Regions from separate parts of the Homo sapiens genome. Here all the other regions are linked to region 3. Evidence: promoter capture Hi-C in 16 types of primary human blood cells and fetal thymus (Javierre and others, 2016). All regions are on one chromosome and are shown on one strand. The core of a region is centred on a gene start or on the middle of the fragment in contact, and the rest is flanking DNA. Distances in the headings are between cores, read along the strand shown. Region 1 overlaps LINC01738 (long intergenic non-protein coding RNA 1738). Region 2 overlaps LOC105378697 (a long non-coding RNA gene). Region 3 holds the start of LINC00853 (long intergenic non-protein coding RNA 853). Region 4 holds the start of MKNK1 (MAPK interacting serine/threonine kinase 1).

Region 1 (3,345 bases), core at 521-3,020, 520 kb before region 3:
AGGGAACTGAGGGTTAAGGAAGAGGCTGGGGATCAGGGAGTAGGCTGAGTGTCAGGGAGGAAGCTGAAGGGTCAGGGAGGAAGCTGAGCGTCAGGGAGGAAGCTGAGGGGTCAGGGAGGAGGCTGATCGTCAGGGAGGAAGCTGAGGGGTCCGAGAGGAGGCTGAGAATCAGGTAAGAGGCTGTTGCAGGGTCCCAGCAAGGAAAGACAATGAGAGTGACTTTTAGATGGAGAGGAGAGGCCGGGTTTGAGAGTTTGCTTCATTCATCCATTCAGTGCATATGGGGTGGGCAACTACTGTGTGTCAGGCTGGATTCCAGCTGCTGGGATACAGTAGTGAACAAAGCAATATGAAATCTCTGCCCTCCTGGAGTTTACATCCTAGTGGGAGAAACAGATCATGGGAGAAACAGATCATAAACTAATAAGAAAAACATACAGTGTTAGATAAGGATAAGTGCTATAAAGAAACATCAAAGCAAGGGAATGGGATATCAAAGGAAGGGGTCAGTGACAAAATTATGGATACAGTAGCCACAGAAGGCCTCGCTAATAGGGTAACTTCTGAGAGAAGACTGGAAGGAAGCAAGAGTGAGCCCTGCAGACATCTAGAGGGAGCATCCCAGGCAAAGGGAATTAGGAGCACCAAGGCTCCAAGGCAGGAGCGTGCCCAGCATGTGCCAGGAGAGGGTAGGGCCTGTGGGGCTGGAGGGGGCACAAAGGGAGAGGATTAGGAGAACTCAGAGGGGGACGAAAGGAGCTAAGTCAAAATGGGCCTTGTCTGTCTCAGGCTCCTGGAGGTCAGGACTCTGGTGTTGGGGCCTTGGGCAGGCCCTTCCCTCTCCAGCTGATTTCTCCCAGTGGAGGATACGTGTGGTGTGGATATGATTGTGAAAGCTTTGAGGATTATGCCATGTGCTGAGCAAAACTCAGACCCTGTGGCCAGGTGGGGTGGCTCACTCCTGTAATCCCAGCACTTTGGGAGGCCGAGATGGGTGGATCACCTGAGGTCAGGAGTTCAAGATCAGCCTGGCCAACATGGTGAAACCCCATCTCTACTAAAAATACAAAAATTAGCAGGGCGTGGTGGCGCATGCCTGTAATCCCAGCTATTTAAGAGGCTGAGGCAATAGAATCGCTTGAACCCAGGAGATGGAGGTTGCAGTGAGCCGAGGTTGCAGTGAGCCGAAATTGCACCACTGCACTCCAGCCTGGTGACAGAGCGAGACTCCATCTCAAAAAAAAAAAAAAAAAAAAAAAGCAGCCAGGCATGGTGGTGTGCGTCTGTAGTCCCAGCCACTCAGGAGGCTAAGGCAGGAGAATTGCTTGAACCCAGGAGGCGGAGGTTGCAGTGAGCCGAGATCACACCACTGCACTCCAGCCTGGGCAACAGAGTGAGACTGTCTCAAAAAAAAAGAAAAATCCAGCCCTGCAGGCCCTGAGATTCTCCAGGTTAAAGTCACAAACACCCACCCTTTCTGAGACTAAAGTTTGGGAGATGCTAAGATGGTAGCAGTGCTGCCAACCTCAGGATGCAGAGGGCCTTACCTCTCCCCACCCACCTGCTGCTCCTGCACCCTGGGAAACAAAAGAGGGGCTGACTTCAGGCCACAGTGGCCTAGTGGCCTCTAGGCCTTGTGTCCACAAATACTGTGTCACACGGCTTGGGGTCTTTTCCTTCACAATGAATTCATCTTCATCCATCATTCCATTAATTATTCTCCCCAGTATTCTTTTATTCATGTACATATTCATTTCCTCCCTCATTCTATTTGTTTACTCCTTTCTTCACTCATACACATATTCATTTTCCTCCCTCCTCAAACTTATCACAAGAGTAACTAAATACATCATAGATTGTGCAACTCCCAGTGTCTGCCTGACTTCTCAGCTACAATGTGAAAGATGAGGGCAGGAAGCATGTCTTCTTCACAGCTGTGATACCAGCATCTGGCCCCATGCAGAGCCCATAGCATGTGCTCTATAAATGGATTTCTACAGCCATCCATTCACTGCACGTGCATTCATTCTTTAGGCATTCCTCAAACCTCCGTGTGTACCAAAACCTGGGCCAGACACATTTCAGAAGAGGGAGAAGCAAGAAGAAAATATAGGATAAATTATCCCAGCCCCTGTCATCCACCATTCCATTCATCCATCCAATAAACGTTTACCAATGACACTTAGTACTGAATCCTGAGCCGGCAACTGCTTATGCAACTGCTTGCATAAGGATGATCAAGGGAAGGCTGAGGTTGAGCCGCAGCTGGGCCTCAGAGAATGGGCAAAATGTCAGGAGGAAATGTAGCCAGGGGAGAGGGAATGGCAGGAACAGAGGTTTCCATGAACATCACCCTGCCTGGTGGTTAGGGTACAACTGCTATCAAGATAGCTTGGGGCAAATCATGGAGGCATTTAATTGTCAGGCATGAGAGTTTCCTGGGCTCCAGAGGAACTTGATCTCGGCCTGTCATTTCCAGGTGTGAGAAGGCAGGTGAGGCAGGCAGCGCTGAAGGTTTCAGGTTGGTTGCTCCTGGGCAGAGTATGATTTCCTGTTTGCCTAGAGAGGAAGAAAAGGCCTTCGAAAGACAGTGAAGGTTCTCCAACAGGCCACACAAGCTCAAAATGGCTCAGACAAAGCTTTGTGATGACTTTAATGCAAATGAACTAAAAGTATATGGATTAAATTTTCCTCCCTAAAATACATGAGCTGTGGAAACAGAAAGGTGTGTATTTAAATGTAGGCCCCTTGAGCTCTCTCTAAGCCTGTCTTAGCGCAATGATACACCATGGACGCGGTTAACTCTGCAGGTGCCACAGTTCCACCCAACAGCTTTGGACCTAATCAAGGATAAAGGGGTCTCAGCCCTCTAATGCTGCAGCTCCCCTCCCCAAATCTTCTGGGCCCTGGCAGGTCCTGGCAGAGATCCTGGGCCCACTCTTGGCCTCTTTGACCAGGAAAAATTTGCTCCCGGGCTTAGGTCTTCAAAAAACACCAGCTCTTTCTGGCTAGCCAGGAAGGAGAGTAAACACCAAATAATAACAAAACAATAGGTATAATTTTAATATTTATTCTTTCACATGTAAACACATTCATCTAACAAAAGACTGAATCAGTATCTCCTTTGACCCTCATCAGAAGCTGAGGGGATAGTTGGCAGTGGGTGGAGGGGGGCGAGGGGGATTATTATCCTCATTTTACAGATGAGGAAGCTCAAGTCCAGAGAGGTTAAAGTGACTTTTGTGAATGTCACACCTCTGCTACAGTGCTCTAATAAGCCCACTGCACCAAACTTCCAAATTGGTAAGATCATGGCATCCTTTTTCAGTGAAGAGTGTGTCCCGG
Region 2 (3,362 bases), core at 321-2,820, 560 kb after region 3:
AGGCTAGAGTGCTTTGGAACAGTCTTGGCTCACTGCAACCTCCGCCTCCCAGGCTCAAACAATCCTCCTGCCTCAGCCTCCTGAATAGCTGAGACCATGGGCATGCACCACCGCACCTGGCTAATTTTTGTATTTTCTTAGTAGAGATGGGGTTTCGCCATGTTGCCCAGGCTGGTCTCTAACTCCTGAGCTCAAGCAATCTGCCACCTCAGCCTCCCAAAGTGCTAGGATTACAGGCATGAGCCACCCCACCCGGCCCTGCTCTGCCATTTCAAGCTGTGCTTCTTGGCCAAGTCATTTCACCTTTTGGAGCCAATACTCACATTCCAAGGTTGTTACAGGGCTCAAAAATGACCAGAGTAGGCCGGGCACGGTGGCTCACGCATGTAATCCCAGCACTTTGGGAGGCTGAGGCGGAAAGATCACCTGAGGTCAGGAGTTCAAGACCAGCCTGGCCAACAATGGCGAAACCCTGTCTCTACAAAAATTAGCTGGGCGTGATGGTGTGTGCCTGTAATCCCAGCTACTCAGGAGGCTGAGGAAGGAGAATCACTTGAACCTGGGAGGCGGAGGTTGCAGTAAGCCGAGATCACGCCATTGTACTCCAGCCTAGGTGACAGAGCGAGACTCCATCTCAAAAAAAAAAAGAGTAGTAAAAGCACTTTGTAAACCAGAACATTCCTTACAACTGTCAGTTGCTGCTACAAGGTAACATGGGAGGAGGCAAAATAAATAAAAACCCAATTCTAAGGGCTTATAGTCCAAAAGGGAAGACACAACCTCCATGGGCTTAACCAAGGAGTGCATCTGCAAACCACTGAGAACTTTTTGTGTCAAGGGCTCCCCCCTGAGGAGGGTTGGTTCCAGGCAGCTGGTGTAATTTAGGAAAACTTCCTGGGAAAGCCAAGAGCATACCCTTAGTCTGCTTAGCCTTAGGCAAAGCGGAGCTCCTACAGCTACTTCTTGAAAAGGCCCCAAATGCAATTTGATGACATTCTGCAGGAAGTCACAAGCTGTACTTGTGTGGAATCCAGACTCTACGGGGTGCAGCATGAGTCTCCAATAAGAAGTGGACTCCACCCACTGAATTGCTGCTTCCCGCTGCAGCAGACACAGCTCTCCCATCTCCTGGACATGAAGCCAAGATGGGACCCAAAGAGAGCTGCAGTGTAGAGTTTGGAACGTCATCTAAACACGGCCAATCCCTTCTCTCTACTTAGTGGAACTTTCTTTCCAGCCCCTCCGTCCCTCTCTGAAGGGAAGAACAACTTAAAAGCTCTAGAAAGATAAACCTCCCTCTCTCCCAGGGTTGCTGAGAAGAAGAAATGAGAATATGCCTCTCAGGGAGAGGCATACGTAAGGTTCACTGAATGGTTTTTATTGTCATGATTCATCATTGGGCTGATCTCTTCCTCTCCCTATGTCTCAGTTTTCCACATACTTCGAGGAGATTAGACTAAATGATATCCAAGAACCTTTCCCTTTTACAAGCCACTCCTCCCTGACCTGTTGTTCAATAATATTCCTTTGTAGCCAGTGGGACTCGTGGGCCCAGTGGAAGTTCCTTAGAAGACCGAGGCCTTTGTCACCACCCACAAAGCAAGGGGAAGGTCTGCAACTGGCCAACACAGTGCCTGACATCTAACGGGCCCTCAGTAAATACTTGTGGAATGTAAGAATGAATGAACAAATAGAAGAAATTGATGTGTTTTCACACCACCATAATAGTTGAAATCATAATTTACTACCATTATTTTATTTTTTTTCTTTTTGAGACAGAGTCTCGCTGTATCACTCAAGCTGGATCTCGGCTCACTGCAACATCTGCCTCCTGGGTTCAAGCGATTCTCCTGCTTCAGCCTCCTGAGTAGCTGGTATTACAGGTGCAAGCCACCATGCCCGGCTAATTTTTGTGTTTTTAGTAGAGGCAGGGTTTTGCCATGTTGGCCAAGCTGGTCTCAAACTCCTGACCTCTTATGATTCGCCCGCCTTGGCCTCCCAAAGTGCTGGGATTACAGGCATGAGTCACTGCGCCCAGCCATAATTTACTACCATTATTGCTAAAAGATAACACCCAGCTCTCTGGGGACCATAAGAAACCCCCATCCCTGCTGGCAACTCTGAGGCAGGGAGGCAGGTGTTACTGAACACACTTGGAGAAAGGATGCTGTGCTGTGGAGGAAGGAGGAGGGTGCATCCAGACTGGGGCAATCTGAGGGCTTTCTATAGAAGAGCTTTGAACTAAGTGGGGGTTGCTCCAGGCGGCAGCCCCAGAGGCTGACATGGAGGCACCCCAGCAGCAGAGAAGGGGCTAGGTTGGACAGAATTTCCTGGGCAGCCTTCATAGTGGGTTCCATGGAAAGCTGAGCCTGGAACACTGGTGAAACCACCCCTCCCCCACAACTATCACCTCCACTCGTGGGGCACCCCAGGCTGGGAACTAACCCAAGTGGTTGGAGGGGACAATGCCTACTGGGGCCATGTTGAGGGTGAGGTCTGAGGGCTGTGAAATTGTCTTCAGGCACTTATACACACTAGGCTTCCACCCAGCCTCCAGAGGTCTCCTTCCCAAGATGGAAGAGATGAGAGGAATGCCTCTACCTTAAGGGGAGATGGCTGGGAAGGAGGAGGAGCTTGGAGCAGAGAACACTGGAGCCTGAGGTTCTTAGAGGCAAGACGGCCCTCCCCGTCTCTGGAGGGACTGAAACCCTCTGAAGTCCATGTCACCCGGGACTGGTAACTTCTGCTTGCACCACTCCCTCTTGAGAGAACAGCACAGCCATCCCGGCTGCATGGTTGGACAGCTCTGATGTGCCAAGCGCCCCTTCATATTGTCCTGGGTGTCTGCCCACTGCTCTCCAGGACCCTGGAACAAGCTCAGTCCCTCTTCCACACAAACACCTGCTGGGTGTTTGAAGGCAGTACCCCTGAAACAGACTGACCACAGCCTTCTACTGTTTACAAGTGCTATCACATTTGATTCTCTCAGCTCTTCTGTGGGGCAGATGTTGTTGTTGTTGTCTTTACTTTAGAGAAGGTGAAATAGGCTCAGAGAACAAGTGCCTTGTCCATGGTCACACAGAATTTTAGTGCATGTCCTTGTCAACCTTGTCTTCCCCTGCCATCTTCCCTTGAACCTTGTCTTCTTCAAGTGAAAGGAAGTTTAACCTCAATTCCTCTGACTGCCGTAAGGGTGCCCATGGCATTCTCCTCAATGGGCCAGGATGGAAAATCCAGGACGGATGATCCTGCCTCCTGGGCAGGGAGGGGCAGAAGCTGAAATGGAAACTCTTTCTTGGGAGAGAGTGAGTAGAGGGTGGGCCCTATCAGGCTATAGTAGCTGCCAGACATCTGGTAAGGTG
Region 3 (3,253 bases), core at 39-2,538:
CCCAAACTCAGGCAGAAAAGAAAAGCCTCCACCCAGCAACTGCACAGTTGAGGGAAGACTGCAGCACTGCTTACTTCATTTAGACTTGAAGAGGAACTTCCAGCCAGGAGTTGGCTTTGAAAACAGGCTGTGGAGTTCCGTCTCCAGAGTGCCAGGTGGTCAAGGGGAGTTTCAAGATTACTGCCGTCATACTCAGAGTGACACATGCAGAAATACTATCTGTTTATTGTGCTTCAAGGATCCATTAGATCAGGACTATTGCTGGGCAAAGCCTCTTCCCGCAGCCTAGGGGTAGTAAAGGTGGGGGTAGAGGTGCTGGGGCTGGGGCCAGAATCACACACAGTCTGCTCTGGCCTCTACCCACCTTCACAGGGAAGTCAGGTGGCTGAAGCCAGCAGAACTTGCTCTGGGACCAGGGTGGAGGCACCTGCCTCCCATCCAGACCTGGCTGGAGGGTCTTGACTCCCTAGCTTGGCTCTCCTCCCAGGGTTTTTTTTTTTTTTTTTTTTTGTCCCTGGCAGTGCAGGGGTGGCCAAAAGCTTGAGCTTGGGAATCATGCCGATTGGTTCAAATTCCAGCCTGCTCCTCGATGCTTGTGGGATCGCCTAGCCTTTCAGATCTTCCATTCCTTTGCCGGTAAAATTGGCTCTATAGTACATTCCTTGCAGGGCTGCTGGGAGGAAACAGAGATGACATCCGTGTTATTATTGCTCCTGAGACTTGCCAGAAAGCCCTCCATGATCAGCGTAGATGCCATTTCTTCCCAGATGCTCCTTTCCCCACTCCTGGGTTCAGCACTTCCTCCGGGCAACTTCAGCCCCTGCTCCTCCCTCTCTTTGCACCCGCCCCACCTGCCCCACTCACTCCACCCACCCCAGGGTGCTGTCTACTTGTCTGCATCCTGCTCCTGCCCTGGGTCTGGGAGCTCCTCAAGGGCAGGAATGGAGTGACTTCCCTCTCTGTGCACCCAGGACAGGGCTGGACAGGAGAAGGGAAGCCCAAGGAGTGGTGAAGAGCCCCGAAGGAAGGGACTAAACTCCAGCCATCTGTCCCGCGGTGTCTGTTCATACTCCTCCTCCGTGCACGGGCTCAGACATACATATGCGCATATGCTCTGTCTCTTTCTGGTTGAAGGTCCTGGGAGCCCTCCGGAACTCTGCTGCCTGGCAGTCCTTCAGTTTCGGGAGCTTTTCTGTCTGCCCGTGGCCTCGGCTGCCACCTGGTGGCTGCACGCTCCAAAGGAAGCGTAGATTGATGAGAGCCTCGGAAGTTGAGCTTCAGGCGCGGCTCTTCCCCGTCACACTGGGACCGGACGCATTTCCATGGCGTGGTCCCAGGAACCTCTCAGGTCATGCCAGCAACTGGGACTTCCTGTGGAATGCAAGGGCAGTGGGGCCTCCGCGAGAGAGAGAGAGAGAGAGAGAGAGAGAAGAGAGAGATATTAAGGATGAATCCCAGTGTCTGCTCTGAGCAAATTGGAAGACGATGGCATCAGGGGCACTGCTCTGGGCTATATAGACTGTGCCTCCACTAAAGGGTCCCTGAGACCAGGTGTGGGCCCGTATCCCTGGAGGGAGAGGTAACTTCCTCTGATTCGAAGGCATCATATAGGCTAGTGAATGGCACTGAGAATGGCAGATGCCAGGGACAAGCAGGAGCATGTGTGGGATGAGGATGCGGCGTGGATGTGTGACGTTTCAGAGCCTGCAACACATCCGTAGGGAAGTCCTGGAGGAGCAGTTGGGTGCATGGTGGAGTTCTGAAACAGCTGGGCAGTCGGCACTTGAGCCAGAGATTCTGCTTTCGACCTGGATGCCCATTGAGAGGTTAAGAGCTCAGGTCTGGGTCAGGCAGCTTGGAAGCAGCACAGCTTGGACACTTGGTAGCCTGGGACTGTGGTTAAATCAACGTGACTCTCGGAGCTCCAGTTCACTGTAAATTAGGGCAGTAAATGATGTCTACATGATAAGTGGTGTTATGAATGTTAAACATTCACATGAAATACATAGAATAGTGCTTAGCATACAGTACACAATAACTGTTAGCTATTTGGAAAATTACTATTGTTATTATGATTATTTATTACAGAGTGAACTGAATTGGATGCAAGATCACGGTGCGTCAGAGCTAGCAAGATCCTTAGGATCATTTAGCCTGGTTTACTAATATTACACTATGGAATTTAAGCCCAAGGAATGGAGAGTACCCGACGAGCGTTATGTAAGGAGTCGAGTGAGAAGTAAGCTGGATGCTCTGCTTGGCTGGCAGGTACAGAATGTGCCAGACCCATCTGTACCAGCCTGGATCTCTTGAGGCATCAGCACAATGGACCTGGCCACACCAGTTTATTCCACACCGCTGAGGCTGGTACAGTTCTGGACATGGACTTTGTAAATAAATAACTGGGCCTTTGGTCAGTTCTAGCTGTGAGCTTGGAGGTATGGGGTGGGATGGTGAGGACAGGTGGGGGCAAAGTGAGGAAAGGGGCAGGGAGGAGAGGGGAGAGAGAAAAAGGGGAATGAGACAGGCTGAGCTAGTGAGCTGGAATTGGAGGTTGGGAACAGGCTTTCCTTGATGGTGGTGGTGCTGTTTTCTTTTTAATTTTAATTTAATTTTATTTTAAGTTCCAGGCTACATGTGCAGGATGTACAGGTTTGTTACATAGGTAAAAACATGGTGGTTTGCTGCAACTGTCAACCCATCACCTAGATATTAAGCCCAGCATGCATTAGCTATTTATCCTGATGCTCTCCCCACCCCTGCCCCAACAGGCCCCACTGTATGTTGTTCCCCTCTTTTTTGTTCACTTAAAAGATCCCACTTTTAAGTGAGAGTATGCAGTGTTTGGTTTTCTGTTCCTGTGTTACTTTGCTGAGGATAATGGCCTCCAGCTCCATCCATGTCCCTGCAAAGTACATGATCTCATTCCTTTTTATGTCTGCATAGTATTCCATGGTATATATGTACCATATTTTCCTTATCTAGTCTATCATTTATGGGCATTTGGGTTGATTCCATGTCTTTGCTACTGTGAATAGTGCTGCAATGAACATATGCTTGCATGTATCATTATTTTTTTATTTTTTTTGAGATGGAGTCTTACTCCCTCACCCAGGCTGGAGTGCAATGGTGCAATCTCTGCTCACTGCAACCTCCTCCTCCCGGGTTCAAGCAATTCTCGTGCCTCAGCCTCCCGAGTAGCTGGGACTACAGGTGCCTGCCACCACACCCGGCTAATTTTTTTGTTTTTTTG
Region 4 (3,115 bases), core at 553-3,052, 580 kb after region 3:
CTCAAAGATGTTAACTGAATTTGATTGCCATGTGAGGGACATAGCAACTTTGAGAACCTGGAACATAGGTCCTGAATCTCTTGGGCTATTGCCACAGGCAACAGGGAAGGGAACAGGCCAGCAGGGCCTCTGAAGACTTGAAGCTTGGATCGGCCTCCACGGAAGGTAATGAGTGGGAGAAGTCAGGATACATCGGGGCCCTCAGGTTGGACCGCAGGATTCCAGAAGGGAATGAACACAGAAGCTTGATCTTCCGCCTCTCCGGCCTTCACCCAGATTGGGAAATCTAGCAAAGTCCTGAATGTTCACTAATATTCCCAATCTCCTTCCATCATACAGATGAAAAGACAGCCCCGACAAGACAGGGAACAAATGTTTGTCAGGTGGATGATGGGAAGCAAGTCCCTGGGGCTCTTTAACTAGCTTGGCTTACCAAATCCTCACGATAATCCTGAGACAGGCAGGGAAGGGATGTTCACCTCCATCACTCGGAGTCAGCGCCTGAATTAAATCCCAGTCCACACTCTCATCCTTTCTCATCGCAGCTGCAGACTTGGGAAGGGGATGTGGGGAGACTGGTTGAGGCATTAACCTATTTACAGTTGTTTTTCCCCAAGAAATGAACTTTTAAAAGTTTTAAAAATTTTGAAATACTGGGGATAATGTTGTACTCAAGGAGAAACTCTTATGGTGAAATTCTAGGCACTCAGACTTTTAAAGAAATTGTACAGAATTGGCCCCCGTTTTAGAAAAGACTAGCAGCATTTCCCCACATATAAAAGGCATTTTAAAATTCCTTCCTGGCCTGCAGAAGCTCTCAGTACATGTTAATTACACCTGTCGCGCCCGGCCTCCTACCTTCCCGGGCTTCTCCACCCTCCATTCGGAAAAGAAAGCGCCGGAGGAGCTAAGCCCCACCCGCTTGCCAGCAATCTCCCCTCTCCCCGCCTCTTCCCTGTCACGCCTGCGCAGTTCGCTCAGCTCGAGCCCCCTGCCCTCAGGCGGCCCTGGGTAGCCATCAGGGCGCAGGCGCAGCTCCGCCCCCTCACCCTCCTCTCTGATCGGGCCCACCCCCTGGATCTAGCACCGCCTCTTCCGCGTTCTCGGAGGAGCGATCTGCAGGTAGGGGTGCGCGCGACCGCTCCCCGGCGGGAGCCAGCGAAGGTAAAAGCGAGACCTGCGAGGTATTCCTCCGAGCTAAATGGGGCCGGGGTCTGTGAGTGAGCTCGTGTGCCCGGAAGGGGGCAGTCAGGGCCTTCACGGCTGCCCGAGGTCACGACGCGATTCAGCTGCGGAGGGACAGCCTAAGGGGACGCTTTTCAGGACTGTCCCGAGCTGTCTGCGACCTCTGTGCCTGGGGTCGGGGCGTGGCCGGTGTCCGAGATGGCGCTTACTCTGTGGCCCGTTTGAGACTCAGTCTCTCCCAGGGATCAGGACCGAGGCTATGGCTGGGCGCAGGGCTCAGGCAGTCCAGTATCATGAATAGTTTTTCACGTGAGGAATTTGTGAAATCTGTGTACTGCGTTATTTTTAAGTTAATTGTTTTCATTTATTTTCAGTATTTAAAGGCTCCTGCCTGTGTGGATGGCTGTCCACAGGGAAAGGTAATAAGAGTGTCAGGTGCACCCTGTCTTCTAGAGAGCTCCAAGCTCCCTGACAGTGGCAGATCAGAGGCAGGCAGGCTCACAGGAATGAAGTGTTGTTAGAAGTGCTCAACTTCAGGGTCAGGGAGTCCTGGGTTTAGATCTCATCTCTTCCACCTCTTAGCTGTGTGTCCTGGGGCAAGTCTGCTTCCCCTCCCAGAGCTTCACTTTCTTCCCTAGGAAATGGCCATAATAGGGTCATTGTGAAGGGTGAATAGGATTATATGGAAGTCACCTAGTATGGCGCCTGTCATGTAATGGGTGCTGAATACATGGTAGCTGTGATTTCTAGGAGCTTGGTCATTTTGGATTGGGGTACTTTAGAAAGGCTCTGAGAGAAGAGTTGTTGTGACCTGGGCCTTGAAGCCTCAGTGGGATTTACAGATGGAACTGACCCTGCAGAATGGGAAGGGCACCACTGCCCATGCGCCAGGCACATGCTGGACAGTAGGTGTAATGTCTCACTGGATCACCACCCATCAGCCAGGTGCTTTCAGCCCACTCTCCTTAGCTTCAGCCCTTCATTAGAGGGCTGGGCTGGAAGTGATGTGAAGAGGAAATCCAGGGTTGGGTTTTATATGGAACTGAGCCAGCTAGAGGCTTTGGTGCCCCCTCTGCCCATCTGCTCCCACCTCAACACTTCTCTCTCTGTAATCCAGAGAGTTGGTTAGGAGTCCTGTTACTCTGGTATTTTGCAGATGTTGACAGTTGTGGGGGATGGCAACTCAGATTGCATGAAGCGAAGCCATGGGAGAGGGAAGCTCTGTGAACAGGAGCTGTCAGAGCCCAGCACGTGCTTAGAAAGTGCATGTGGTCTCCTGTAATGTGGTCCCAGAGTAATTGAATTACTTAGTTCCTTTTGCATCCTCTTCATGGGTGCCCTTGTGCTCTTCCTGAGACACTACTCGGAAACCTTGGTGGGCATCATTGCCTACTATATAGAGCAGTGGTGTCCAATCTTTTGGCTTCCCTGGGCCACATTGGAAGAAGAAGAACCATCTTGGGCCACACATAAAATACACTAACATTAACAATAGCTGATGAGCTTTAAAAAAATTGCAAAAAAATCTCAGTGTTTTAAGAACGTTTATGAATTTGTGTTGGACCACATTCAGAGCCATCCAGGGCCGCGGGTTGGACAAGCTGGATGTAGAGTTTGGACTCCAGCCTCAGACAAGTTCCTGCACAATTTGTTCCCACACCTCTCCCCTCCCTGTTTCCCTTGGTTTTCCCAAACCTGCAACCTGTGCTTCAGTCAAAATAAACTAGTTGTCTCTGTTTCTCCTTTTTTTTTGAGATGGAGTCTCACTTTGTCACCCAGGCTGGAGTGCAGTGGCACAATCTCGGCTCACTGCAACCTCCACTTCCCAGGTTCAAGTGATTCTCCTGCCTCAGCCTCCTGAGTAGCTGGAATTACAGGCATGAGCCACCACACCCGGCTAATTTTTGTATTTTTAGTAGAGACGGGGTTT

Evidence for each region. The method cuts DNA at HindIII sites, captures the fragments that hold promoters and counts their contacts. A CHiCAGO score of 5 or more calls a contact.
Region 1: a contact is called between a fragment that was not itself captured here and the fragment with the promoter of LINC00853 in region 3, in 6 of 17 cell types (naive CD8 T cells, total B cells, total CD4 T cells and 3 more). The highest score is 8.4, in naive CD8 T cells.
Region 2: a fragment that was not itself captured here is called in contact with the fragment with the promoter of LINC00853 in region 3 in 2 of 17 cell types (megakaryocytes and erythroblasts); the score reaches 7.2 in megakaryocytes.
Region 4: a fragment that was not itself captured here is called in contact with the fragment with the promoter of LINC00853 in region 3 in 1 of 17 cell types (erythroblasts); the score reaches 5.3 in erythroblasts.

What each region holds. Positions count from the first base shown.
Region 1 is chr1:47,698,607-47,701,951 of GRCh38, reverse strand. The region is part of intron 2 of LINC01738 (long intergenic non-protein coding RNA 1738); the gene reads right to left. Among named protein-coding and RNA genes, the nearest start is that of LINC01738, 12 kb to the right of the region's middle. The HindIII fragment of the contact is 1,743 bases long and covers 899-2,641 here.
Region 2 is chr1:46,620,146-46,623,507 of GRCh38, reverse strand. It overlaps LOC105378697 (a long non-coding RNA gene), which reads left to right. Exons shown (of 3, transcript XR_947297.2): 2 at 1,534-1,672; 3 at 1,780-1,813. Among named protein-coding and RNA genes, the nearest start is that of MOB3C, 5.0 kb to the right of the region's middle. The HindIII fragment of the contact is 4,348 bases long and covers 1-3,362 here.
Region 3 is chr1:47,177,285-47,180,537 of GRCh38, reverse strand. It overlaps LINC00853 (long intergenic non-protein coding RNA 853), which reads right to left and starts at 1,288. Exons shown (of 2, transcript NR_047498.1): 1 at 1,100-1,288; 2 at 199-670. CYP4A22-AS1 (CYP4A22 antisense RNA 1) reads left to right here and starts at 915. Exons shown (of 6, transcript NR_199717.1): 1 at 915-1,348; 2 at 2,089-2,413. RefSeq lists an enhancer at 916-1,417. The HindIII fragment of the contact is 3,617 bases long and covers 542-3,253 here.
Region 4 is chr1:46,602,234-46,605,348 of GRCh38, reverse strand. It overlaps MKNK1 (MAPK interacting serine/threonine kinase 1), which reads left to right and starts at 1,081. Exons shown (of 13, transcript NM_001135553.4): 1 at 1,081-1,164. RefSeq lists a silencer at 900-1,119 and enhancers at 1,450-1,499, 1,267-1,767. The HindIII fragment of the contact is 3,112 bases long and covers 247-3,115 here.